Linked DNA regions of Homo sapiens: region 1 is linked to region 2. Evidence: promoter capture Hi-C in 16 types of primary human blood cells and fetal thymus (Javierre and others, 2016). All regions are on one chromosome and are shown on one strand. Each heading gives the region's core, a stretch centred on a gene start or on the middle of the fragment in contact. The rest is flanking DNA. Distances are from core to core; before and after follow the strand shown. Region 1 overlaps GARIN1B (golgi associated RAB2 interactor 1B). Region 2 holds the start of GARIN1A (golgi associated RAB2 interactor 1A).

What was found. Contacts are between HindIII fragments. The CHiCAGO score rates a contact against its expected background, and 5 or more counts as called.
Region 1: a fragment that was not itself captured here is called in contact with the fragment with the promoter of GARIN1A in region 2 in 2 of 17 cell types (M1 macrophages and endothelial precursors); the score reaches 5.4 in M1 macrophages.

The regions. Positions count from the first base shown.
Region 1 is chr7:128,726,692-128,732,917 of GRCh38, reverse strand. It overlaps GARIN1B (golgi associated RAB2 interactor 1B), which reads right to left. Exons shown (of 7, transcript NM_001282788.3): 5 at 6,047-6,084; 6 at 2,849-3,016; 7 at 1,175-1,818. The coding sequence ends at 1,805. Among named protein-coding and RNA genes, the nearest start is that of CALU, 9.6 kb to the left of the region's middle. The HindIII fragment of the contact is 161 bases long and covers 1,191-1,351 here.
Region 2 is chr7:128,668,994-128,675,450 of GRCh38, reverse strand. GARIN1A (golgi associated RAB2 interactor 1A) reads right to left here and starts at 3,159. Exons shown (of 5, transcript NM_001128926.4): 1 at 2,901-3,159. The coding sequence starts at 3,053. RefSeq lists a silencer at 2,238-2,297. The HindIII fragment of the contact is 20,881 bases long and covers 1-3,645 here.

The sequences.
Region 1 (6,226 bases), core at 22-2,521, 59 kb before region 2:
GGAAGGAAATGAGAACATGAAGAGAGCGAGGAACAGTGAAAACCTGGTAGAAGCAATAGATTGTAGGATTGGTGGGTCAATGGATTATTGGACTCAGGAAAAAATAGGAGGTGTTATAGCTAGGGAGTGGAAATAATGGGGTTAGGTGCAGTTATTAATGACAAACACTAGGGTAAAATCAAGGGAGACAGTGGTCGAGGAGGGTGGAAAAAGCATTGCTGGAAGGCAGGAGTTCAGGGAACAGAGATCAAAGTATGGGAAGGATCATCCATGTGGATGCTGAAATCACTAAGAATTAGGACATAACTCAGCCTTTGAGTAATGGTGATCCAGGAGCTTATTTTTTAGCCTTCTAACAATTTCAGGCTGAAAACTAGTTAAGTGAGGAAAAAGATGCTGCTAGGATATCTTAAGTCAAATCAAAATACCCTCCCCAGCTGGGGGATGGACAGCTTTCCTGAAATACTCATAGTCTGTTTCTCATTAAATGTGAAATTTTTCTTTTTTTGAGACAGGATCTCACTCTGTCACCCAGGCTGAAGTGCAGTGGCACACTCATTGCTCACTGCAGCCTCGACCTCCTGGGCTCAAGCAATCCTCCCATCTCAGCCTGCCTGGTAGCTGGGACTACAGGCACACACCACCACTCCTGGCTAATTTTTTTGTATTTTTGGCAGAGATGGGTTTTCGCCATGTTTCGCAGGCTGGTCTCAAACTTCTGGGCTCAAGTGGTTCACCTGCCTCAGCCTCCCAAAGCGTTGGGATTACAGGCACGAGCTACTGCTCCTGACACTATTGCACATTTTAAACAAAGAGGCCAGTCCATAGACCATCTGACAAACACTCCTTCATGACTCCCTTCATCTATAATTGGTAAACCTCTGATTAACCTGTATGTTGAGCCTATATCTCCTATCTCTGGAATCTCTAATTTAAAAAGCACTAACAAGGTATGTCGACATTTCAAGGGAGTGTTATACAAAAAAGAAGTTGAGCCAGTGTTTGCGGCACGGAGATAATAGCAAACTTAGGGAATTTGAACACAAAAGAGAAATTCGCCCTACCTTACACACCTTGTCTTACTACCTCCTATAAGAACCTTTCTGCAGCTCAAACCCAAACCTCTATTAGGAACAACAGGGCTAGCAAGTCCAAGTTAGGGAACAGGCCAACAAAGAAGGAATGAAGCTTTAATCAGAAGACAGGAACTAGCAAGAAAAACAGATAGAAAGGGAAATGGAAGGTGTCTGGCAGTTCACATTTGTCCAGAATGGTCTGAGCAGGGAAGAAAACATTTCTTTTTTTTGTTTATGGCTTTACTTTCAAGTTTTAAATTAGATAAATAGAAGCTTGGTGAGCATCTCTCAGGGGTGTGTCCCTTCTCTTGTCCTCCTTATCTCGTCTACCAAGTCTCTTCCGTTTCCTATTACCACTTCTCTTTGTGTCTCTCATCTGCTGACTTTCTCCCACCACCTTTCTCATCACCTCCATTTTGCTTCCTTCCACTTCTCTGGTCCTACTTCCCTTTCACTCCTTTCCTTCATCTCTTGGGCCCGGCCATTCTGAGAGCACATCTTGCTAGGCCAGCTCTGGCAGTGGCATGGAGGTGGCATATGCCGAGGTGCAGTGGCGAGGACGTGGTTATGTACAGCTGGAAAGGCTCTGCTGTCACCGTGAGATGACTCTATTCTTCCTTGGTTGCAGTTTTCTCCTACTCTCCATCCCGATAATCCCTCAGCAGCTGAATGCTGCAAAGTGGTGTTGACGAGGCTTGCATAGATTCTCCCCAGTGCGGAAGGGTGGCTCAAATAGAATTTCCTGTGAGTGTAGGAGAGAAAAGTGTTTGATAGGATATAAATTACCTAAAAAGCTCTTTTGTGGGCACACAGATACTTATGCTAATTTAAAAAAATTGTCAACTATCTATAATAGGTATCTTATAAGGGTTGGTGGTGGCCGGGCCCAGTGGCTCACACCTGTAATCCTAGCACTTTGTGGGAGGCCAAGGTGGGCAGATCACCTGAGGTTGAGAGTTCTGAGGTCGAGAGTTCGAGACAAGACTGGCCAACATGGTGAAACCCTGTGTCTACTAAAAATACAAAAATTAGCTGGGCGTGGTGGTGCATGTCTGTAATTCCAGCTACTCAGGAGGCTGAGGCAGGAGGATCACTTGAACCTGGGAGGCGGAGGTTGCAGTGAGCCAAGATCATGCCACTGCACTCCAGCCTGGGTGATAGAGTGAGACTCCGTCTCAAAAAAAAAAGAGTTGGTGGTTTATTCATGACATTTTACTTTAGAAAACAGAAATCACCCCTCCCTTTTAGGGAAATCTATCTCTGGTCAAACAGAGGCACATAGGAAGTACTTCACAAATGTTTGTTAAATGAATGTGTGGATGGACGAATGGGCCTTGAGCATGAAGACAGAAGGACTGGGACCTTAGGGAGGTCTGACCCCACCCCAGCCCCCTTAACCTACTTCCTTTTCACTCTCTGCATCCCAACCCAAGCAGTAAGAAGGCCCTTCAAGAGCTCCAGGAAAGGAAAAGAGAGGAAAGACCACATGGGGAGTCTGCAGAGGAGATCCCTTACACCTCCCATACAGCAAGAGAAAGCAGCTATAGCGTCAACAGCATCTGGGGGAACTCTGGGGGCCCTGGAGGTGCCACACATCATGGTTTTGCTCAGCCCAGTTGGGAAAAGAGGGCTGAGGTCTCTGTGGCCAGCATTCCTCGACCACACCCCACAACTTTCTGGAATCACCCTCAGGACCCCAGGATCTGACCCAGCCCTGAGGCTGAATGCCAGGGCTGCCCCACAATGGCAGGGGATTCCTCCCATTGCTGTACCTATGGGTGGGGCCAGCTGTGGCCCGGTGGAGGCTGCCAGAGTGCTGAGTAGTGAGAGGGGCTGCAGGCCGGAGGGGTTCTCTCTTTCCCACTCTCCGTACGTGAATGAAGCCCTCCAACGTAGGTCACAGGTGCAAGGGATGCTGTCTTCACGGGAAGAATCTTTCCCTAGATCAAGTAAAGAAATGCATTTGCTTGTGTGCTGGTTCACAGAGCCCTTACAGGTTACAGCTGACATTTGGGGGGGTGCTTACGATGTGCCAGGCACCATTCCAAACAATTACGTGCATTCATGGTCCTTTAATCCTCACCTCTGTGAGGTCAGAGAGGGTGAGTAACTTACCAACTGTCACACAAGGAGAAGCAGAGTCAGAATTCCAAGCCTGGCAGCCTGGCTCCAGAGTCCACGTTCTTACCACTATGTCACGTGAACAAGACAGCACCAGTAAAAGGAGAGACCCAATATGATTCAGATGGGTTAACTGAGTGGATTTCCCCAGGAGACTCATCTAGCTGAACTAGCAATGGCCTTGAACCCAGAAGACCTTAAGCTAGAGCCTGTTCTTGGTCCACTTGGCCCTGGCTCTTCAAAGGATGGCCCACAGCCCAGCACCTTGGGCATTACCTGGGAGCATGTTAGAATCGCAGTCTCAATCCCGCTAGACCCAAGAAATTAGAATCTGCCTTTTAACAAGATCTATGGGGGACTGTTTGGACATTAAAGTTTGGGAAGCACTGCAATAATAGGCCATACCACCTGCTGGTGGTGAGTGGAAAGATTCAGCCACACAGGTGCTGTTGGGCCTCTGGTTTTTCCAATTTTAAGTCTCTTTTTCATCCAAAAGTTCCAGAGGCTGGGGTATAACAGTCTTTTTAAACTGAGAGACTACACTCCCTCGCCGAATGAGAAAAGAGGGCCTGGAGGCCACCTGGGATGGTTAATTTCAATTCAATTTCAGCCTAGGAACATCTTGGCCGTGGTAGGTCCCATGATGCCAGATACCCTGCGACCCTAAAATTCTAGCTGTTTTCTCAAGTCCCAGAAATGTTTGAAATATTCCTCACATCTGTTTTCTTCAACCCTAATGTCATGGGGTATGTTTTGAGTGTGTATGTTTATACATATGTGTGTTTGAATGTATGTTTAAATGCAGAGAAATGAGTCACCATCATGTCATTAGTCGCATAACATGAGAAAACATTCTTAGGCTTGGACAAAATGTGAGGCAGCCACAGCTGTGCTCACCATTTAGAACAGGGGCTGTGAGCTGGCAGCCTCCAGGCTGAATGTGGTCTGCAGATATGTTTTGTTTGCCCACTAAGTGTTAGCCAATACTATGCTTGAATATTTTATGGGAAGGTGGTATGCCACATATGTCCAGATCTTTTGGCTTCTCTTGAAAAATCAGAATATTTGGCCTGGATTCCAGCATGGCAACAACGAATGGAAGTCTTAATTGAAGCTTTCACTTTCTCATTGCCACTATCCCCACCACTCCCTGCTGTCTTCTCAGTTTTGACACCAAGTGTCAGCTGCCAGCAGTTGTTTTACTTATAACAGAATTTAGAGAAAAGTTAACCTTTTCTTACATCCATGTCACCCAGCCCTTTATCCATTTTTTTTTTTTAAGTCTGAGTCTCGCTCTGTCACCAGGCTGGAGTGCAGTGGCGTGATCTCGGCTCACTGCAACCTCCACTTTCCCAGATTCAAGCGATTCTCCTGTCTCAGCCTCCCGAGTAGCTGGGACTACAGGTACGCACCATCATGCCCAGCCAATTTTTGTATTTTTAGTAGAGATGGGGTTTCACCATGTTGGCTAGGCTGGTCTCGAACTCCTAACCTCGTGATCCATCCACCTCGGCCTCCCAAAGTGCTGGGATTACAGGCGTGAGCCACCGCGCCCTGCCCCCTTTACCCATTTATACCACCTGCAGTCCTATGCATTTGTAATCCCTGATTTAGACGAAAGTTAGCAGAGTTCCCCTGGGACCTACAGCCTTCTCTAAATTTATAAATATCTTATGATATTTTGGCTGCCTACTGAGCCAACGTGAAGGAATAATTTATTAGTGCCATGGTATATGGGTATTAATTGCCTCCCATTGTGTTCTCAGGCCTCTGCTTCATGCTGTGGATAATTGAGAAGCCTGAAAACAATTTAGTATTCACTGAAGAAATATCCCTCAAACCTATAAAACAACTAGGGAATAATGAAAGAGAGGTTATGACCGAGGAAGGATTAGCCTGGCAGGAAGGTGTTGTGTGAAGGGTAGGATTTAGAAGGATAGGGAGGATTTAGAGTGAAGCATCGGGGGAAGGGAGTGGATGGGGGATGAAGGAGGCATGGGATGGCTAAGGTTTGCTGGAGCAAAAGATTTGGGCTAGAGAAGATGATTAGGCAGAGGGCTGCTATTAGAGGAAGAGTGAGTGAGCAGGTGAGATGGGTGAGATGGGGGAAGATTGTGCAGGGCCATGCATGCCGAATTGAGTGGATTTGGGGTGAACTAGAACCTGGAAATAGGGAACTGGCTGCTTTTTCCAGAATGTGTCATGCTCCCTCTTGCAGACTCTGTCTCTTCTTCCTAGAATGCCCTGCGTTACCTGTTTCAGCCAGCTCACCTGCACTCATTGTCTATGACTCAGTTCAGAAACCATGCCTCCCAGGCAAGCTTCCTGGCAGGAATGAGGGACCCCCTTCTTTGTGCTCCTTTGGCACCCTAGGCACAAGCTTTGAATGTTGCCTGGAAGGAGACATTTTGTAATTCGGGGATTTTCCCATCTGACACCACCAAATTATAAACTTCTTGCGGGAACATGGTGTCTTTCTACATGGTGGCCCTAGAGCCCATCACAGTAACTGGCACTCAGTGCGTGGTTTTGAATGAATAAATGGATAAATGAACTTATGGAAGAGTGCTACAGGCTTGAGATGAGAAGGGCTGGGCTGGGGTAGGGTCTGTGGGTGTAGAAATGAAGTAAAGAATACAAGATACATTGCAAAGAAAGAAATTGGTTAGGACTTGGTGCCAACTTGATTGTGGTGGCCAGAGAGCCTAAAGGAATTCAAACTAAGGCATGGAAGGACAATGGCAATACTGACAGCACCAGGACAACCAGGATGGGGGCTGGAGGGGATCTTATTCTTATATCCAGAGTAGAAAGCTCTTTGAGGCATGGTACCCTGTGCCCTCCCTTACCTGAGCTGTTCTTGTTGGTCTCCACCTTTCTGCTGCTCCTGAAACTCGAGCCATTTCAGGATCAAGGAAATGAAAGTTGAAAGTAAAGGAAAAGAACATTAAATTTGTATTTCAGATCTTGTTCCAAAGTTCCTGATGCAAAGCTTTAGAGACAGATATAAATATGAAAAAGGCCAGCTG
Region 2 (6,457 bases), core at 1,910-4,409:
AAAAAGATAACTGTTTTATCTAACTAAAAAGATGCACTAGCAAGAAAAAGCTGAGTGGCACTGAAGTTTTCATTCCCCCATCTTTGGGCAGGAGAAGCCAGCACTGGTTTCTAGTGGCCCAAAAGGGAGATTGTGTGAAGAAAGTCCCAGAAGGAGAGGAAAGTGAGGAAAAAGCTGTTGAATGGGGAAGACCCAGACAGCTTGAGTTGAGGGAGGTTTGGAGCACTTCTCCCAGGATGATGGAGGGGCTATCTTGTTGCTGGGTCTTGAGTGGAATGAGGACCTATTCTCTTGAAGCAGAAGGCGGCCATCACAGGACAGAAAGACTGGATGCCCACCACTGGGCACTGTGTCTCAGCTAAGACACCCCCCACCTCACTGTGCACGGCTGGCAGAAAAGCACCAGAGCTGTGGCCACTTAGGAGCCACAGGGACCTGGATAAGGAACATATGAGGAGGGACGCCTATGTTCCCAAGGCCAGAGGGCCTTCTCCCAATGCTCTACACTTTTTTTAGAAAATAGAGATGGGGTCTCACTATGTTGCCCAGACTGGTGTCAAACTCCTGGGCTCAAGTGATCTTCCCTTCTCAGCCTCCCAAAGTGCTGGGATCACAGGCATGAGCCACTATGCCCAGCCAATGTTCTAGACTTTGTAAAACTATCGACACCATTGCCCAGTCCTTGGTGGAACTGGGGATGAGGGAAAGCCCCAGGGATGACTGAAATGTAATTTCCCACCAGCCTGACCAGATGGTGTTCCCAGAAAAGTGAATTTTGATTTTGAAAAAAAAAAGTGACACTTCTTGGAGCCCTTGTTGAGGAATGAAATTCATATCCTCTGCAAAACACAAAGGGTTGTACACATTGAGAGTAAGTGCTCAATAAATGTTTGTGGGTAATGCTGCTTTGAGATGATGATAGTGATGGTGATGTGCAGGAAGGGGGAGAGAGGAAGCAGTGTAACTGTACTATAACAACTATAACTATAACTAATATGTGGGTTGCATCACTTCAAGTAAACTTTGGACTGTGTGCGGTCATTCATGCCTATAATCCCAGCACTTTGGGAGTCCAAAGCCGGAGTATCACTTGAAGCCAGGAGTTCAAGACCAGCCTGGGCAACATAGTGAGACCCTGTCTCTATCAAAAATTTTTTTTTAAAAAATCAAACTTTGAACTTTTCTGTGCGGGTCAGCCTCTCCCTAGCACATTCTAAGTTTGCTGCTACCCAGGTCACTTAGTGTCCATTCAGAGAATCTAAACAGTTTTAATATTAGGCCAAAGAAAACAGCACTTTGGGAGGCCAAGGCGGGCAGATCATGAGGTCAAGAGATCAAGACCATCTTGGCCAACATGGTGAAACCCCATCTCTACTAAAACACAAAAAAATTAGCTGGGCGAGGTGGTGCACGCCTGTGGTCCTAGCTACTCGGGAGGCTGAGATAGGAGAATTGCTTGAACCCAGGAGGCAGAGGTTGCAGTGAGCCTAGACCATGCCAGGGCAACGGAGTGAGACTCCATCTCAAAAAAAAAGCACACATTAAGAGAAGAAATTTGCAGCTGAATCATTACACCCAAATAGAAATGACTAGAAATTGGATCCTGAGACTGGACTTCCCATGTTATTGCTCTGTCTCCACCAAGGGTATGTTAGGAATGAGCTCGCCTCAGGTTTGCCAGCTGATCACCCAACTACACATCTCCTGGGGCACAGTAAAGGGACCGTGGAGCGGCAGGAGCCATAAACACAGCTCTCCAAAATCCGGGGACTCCATTAGGGAGCAGCTCGCTGCTCTGTGAAGAGTCTCCAAATTAAGCCCAAGACCCACCTCAAACTGTTCCCACCTTCTCTCCTATAACCCCTGGCTACTTTCCCATTCCATTTGAATGGGTCTGTGTCTTGCAGACCTTGCATTCCAGCCTCCCTGCCTTTCCTTAGGTACTTTGAAGCCCCTCTGTCTGGGATATCCTCCCCGCTGCTCTTCCACTTACCAAAATCTCAGCAGTCTCTCAAAGAATGGCTTAAGACCCTTCTGGAAAGCCTTCTTCAACTGCCAAAGTCCAGAGAGAATGCCTTGAATGAATGCCCCCAGCACCTGCTCTCTGCAGTCATGCCTGGTGCATCAGCTGGCCCAAGCTCTCTGACATAGAGCTTGCTTAGACAGTTACCAAATAACAGGTAAACCAAACTCATAGGCTTCCTGGCCAGGGACACTCTGATTTTTCTCTGCACCTCCTGCCCTGCACTCAGTAGATGTTTAGTGTGTGCTTACTGGCTGATTAACTGGTTATGCTCTCCTGCGCAGGAGCATGGGTTCAGGCTAGACCGCTAGAGGGAGGCAGGCAGCACCCGCGTTAAGACTTGATACTTACGAAAACGACCACCTTCCACTCCCAGTGGCCCCATCCCAGGCTCACTTCCATTGGTCATGTCACCACCATCCTTTTAGGGAATGGTAGGATCTGGGCAACACCTATTTACCCAGTGTCTTTGCTTTCAAACAAGGCTGTTTCTAAACCATCCCAGACTGAGGAGGATGGATTTCAGAGCAGAGTTTCTAACAGCAACCTTCATTCCCTGTAACCATCCACTTTGGACAAGTGGCCCAGAAAGGGCCTGTGAACCCTGCCTGGAGACTGAGCTCTGATCTCTCATTTGTAAAGCATAAATCAATTTCCCTAGAACAGATGACCTGCAGGTAGCTCTATCATACGGTAGGCACAAATGGAGGTGAACTTGGGACCCAGACCTTCTGGTTTTCTCTAGCTTTGGTGGCTTCTTTGTCCCCCCGCCCCCCCCTCCCCCAGGGCTTTAAAAGGCCACAGCATCTCCTAACCAACCCCTAGGAACAGGTTTTGGAAACAGAAAGACAGCTGGCCCTGAGCTCCACGAGGGTACCTGGATAAAGTTGCTTTCAAACACCACCGAGTTGGAGAACAAATTGAATTCTGGAGAATGAATCAGTTGACAAAGAAGGCCATTTTCCACCCCAAGTTCCACTCCAGGGCCTGGTTCCCTGACCTCAGGTGGGAGGCCCCTGATTTTACTCATTGGTTCTTGGTAAGAATGGGCTTGGGAACATTTCTGGGGCTCCACGCCGACCCAGCCCAATGCCAGGATGTTGATGTGATCTGCCCCCACCTCCCCAGCATTTCCTCCCCATTTACTTACGGGCTGTCCACCAGGGCTGGGAGGGCCTGTCAGCTCACAATGGCAGGAATGACATCAAGGAATGTGATGGTGACAACAGAAAAGGGAAAAAAAAAAGAAGAGGAAGGACAGAGGATGTGCCAGGCTCTTTTCTCCCTCTTTCCACCAACTACAAACCAGCAGTAATGCAGCCTATTCCACTTTGTAAACATTCAGCCTTACCCCACATGGAAAAAATGACCCTCCCAAAGTTATGCCAAGGCAGCAGTGAGCTGGCCAGATGCAAGGAAGGCTCTCGGGAACATACAGGCTTTAATCCTCTTGGCTCCCCTTGAAGCCCCTCACCAAACTTCCATGGGACTTGTTCACCTGCCCAGGGAAGTCTAAGGATAGGAAAAAGGGAGTTCATCTTCCCTACCCCATCTCATGGGAGAAAAGGAGATTTTTTTTTTTTTTTAAAGAAATGGACACCTGTTAACTAAACTGAGAAGCTTATTTATTTGGAAACAGTGGGCAAAGGAGAAGGCAGTGGCACAGTTGTATGCTGGAGCCAGACCAAAACAGGTCACGAGAGCTGGTTGTTACATTTTCAGGAATGCTACAAACCAGTTGTTAAACACAGCAATTATTAAAACTTTTTTTTTTTTTTTTTTGAGACAGAGTTTTGCTCTTGTTGCCCAGGCTAGAGTGCAGTGGCGTGATCTCGGCTCACCACAACCTCCGCCTCCCATCTTCAAGCAATTCTCCTGCCTCAGCCTCCCGAGTAGCTGGGATTACAGGCATGCACCACCACACCCGGATAATTTTGTATTTTTAGTAGAGACAGGGTTTCTCCATGTTGGTCAGGCTGGTCTGGAACACCTGACCTCAGGCGATCCACCCACCTCGGCCTCCCAAAGTGCTGGGATTACAGTCATGAGCCACCAAGCCCAGCCTTTAAAACTTAAATGATATAAACTTGGCTGGGCTTGGTGGCTCATGACTGTAATCCCAGCACTTTGGGAGGCCGAGGTGGGTGGATCGCCTGAGGTCAGGTGTTCGAGACTAGCCTGGTCAACGGGTGAAACCCCGTCTCAACTAAAACTACAAAAATTAGCCGGGTGTGGTGTGGGTACCTGTAGTCCAGCTACTTGGGAGGCTGGGGCAGGGCGATCGCTTGAATCTGGGAGGTGGAGGTTGTGATGAGCCAAGATGGTGCCACTGCACTCCAGCCTAAGCGACAAAGCAAGACTCTGTCTCAAAAAAAAGAAAAGAAAAGAAACAGTATACAGTGGTGGGCTGCTGCATATCTCTTCCCAGGGTGTGTTCAGGAACTTCATCTTGTTAGCTAGCTTGAAATCAGCAAGTGCTACAAATCAGGGTTTGATTTATTGTTCTGTTGATTGTCTAAACTAAAGTGATAGAGAAAATGTTAATTATGCAGATTAAACTTAAAGATGTGTCTGTAGCTATTATATTTTGGGCATAGAAAAATCTGAGAAAATAGCCTTCCAGTATTTGAAGACTTACCTAATTTAGCGAAGAAGTTGCCCACGTCATTGACAAATGAGTAAAGTTCCAATACACAACTTTGTTATTTCACTTTTGCCTTGCTCATTAATGTAAATCAAAATATCAACCAATATTCATGTCAGAACTATACTTGCTTGTCAGTTGCAATCATAGGTTGGCTAGAAATATCAGCGTTTGACAAAAATCAACAAAAGCTTTTGGTAAGAATCAACTGGTCATATGAAATTTACAATAAAGAGTATTATAAGGCCAGGTGCAGTGGCTCACGCCTGTAATCCCAGCACTTCAGGAGGCCAAGGTGGGTGGATTGTTTGAACTTAGGAGTTCAAGATCAGCCTGGGCAACATGGTAAAACCTCGTCTCTACAAAAAATACAAAAATTACCCGGGTGTGGTGGCACGCCCTGTGGTCCCAGCTATTTGGGAGGCTGAGGTGGGAGGATCACTTGAGTCCAGAAGGCAGAGGTTGCAGTGAGCAGAGATTGTGCCACTGCGCTCCAGCTTGGGTGACAGAATGAGACTCCCATCTCAAAAAAAAAAAAAAAAGGGATCCTAAAATTGTATATTTAAAAAGAGAAAAAGGGCTAGGTGCAGTGGTTCACACCTGTAATCCCAGCACTTTGGAAGGCCGAGGCGGGTGGATCACCTGAGGTCAGGAGTTGGAGACCAGCCTGACCAACATGGTGAAACCCCATCTCTACTAAAAATATAAAAAATTAGCCGGGCGTGGTGGCAGGCATCTGTAATCCCAGCTACTCGGGAGGCTGAGGTAGGAGAATCACTTGAACCTGGGAGGTGGAAGTTGCAGTGAGCTGAGATCACACCATTATTGCACTCCAGCATGGACAACAAGAACAAAACTCCACCTAAAAAAAAAAAAGAAAGAAAAAAGAATCCAACATCAGATCACTTCCCAGTTGGATGTATGAAAATTGGCACTTCTGGCTGGGTGTGGTGGCTTACACCTTTAATCCCAGTACTTTGGGAGGCCAAGGAGGGAGGATCACGAGGTCACGAGTTTGAAACCAGTCTGGCCGATATGGTGAAACCCTGTCTCTACTAAAAATACAAAAATTAGCTGGGTGTGGTGGCATGCGCCTGTATTCCCAGCTACTCAGGAGGCTGTGGCAAAAGAACCATTTGAACCCGGGAGGCGGAGGTTGCAGTGAGCCAAGATTGTGCCACTGTACTCCAGCCTGGGCCACACAGTGAATCTCTGTCTAAAAAAAAAAAAAGAAAGAAAGAAAAAGAAAATCGGCACTTCTTTTTCCATTCCAGGCATCAGCGAGGTAGGTGTAAGAGCTGGTGTTCAGGGCCGGGCGCGGTGGCTCACGCCTGTAATCCCAGCACTTTGGGAGGCCGAGGCGGGCGGATCACGAGGTCAGGAGATCGAGACCATCCCGGCTAAAACGGTGAAACCCCGTCTCTACTAAAAATACAAAAAATTAGCCGGGCGTAGTGGCGGGCGCCTGTAGTCCCAGCTACTTGGGAGGCTGAGGCAGGAGAATGGCGTGAACCCGGGAGGCGGAGCTGGCAGTGAGCCGAGATCCCGCCACTGCACTCCAGCCTGGGCGACAGAGCGAGACTCCGTCTCAAAAAAAAAAAAAAAAAAAAAAAGAGCTGGTGTTCAACAGTGACCCTATTGTTTTTGTGGTGGGGGCCTTTGCCTAGAGCAAGGTCAGTGTGGAATATACAGAGAAGGATGGTGTCTAGCAGCAACTACCTCCTTTCTGCTGCCCTCATCTGTGCAAAACTTATCACAGCCTTTGAAGAAATGGTGGGGGGTGCCACTTG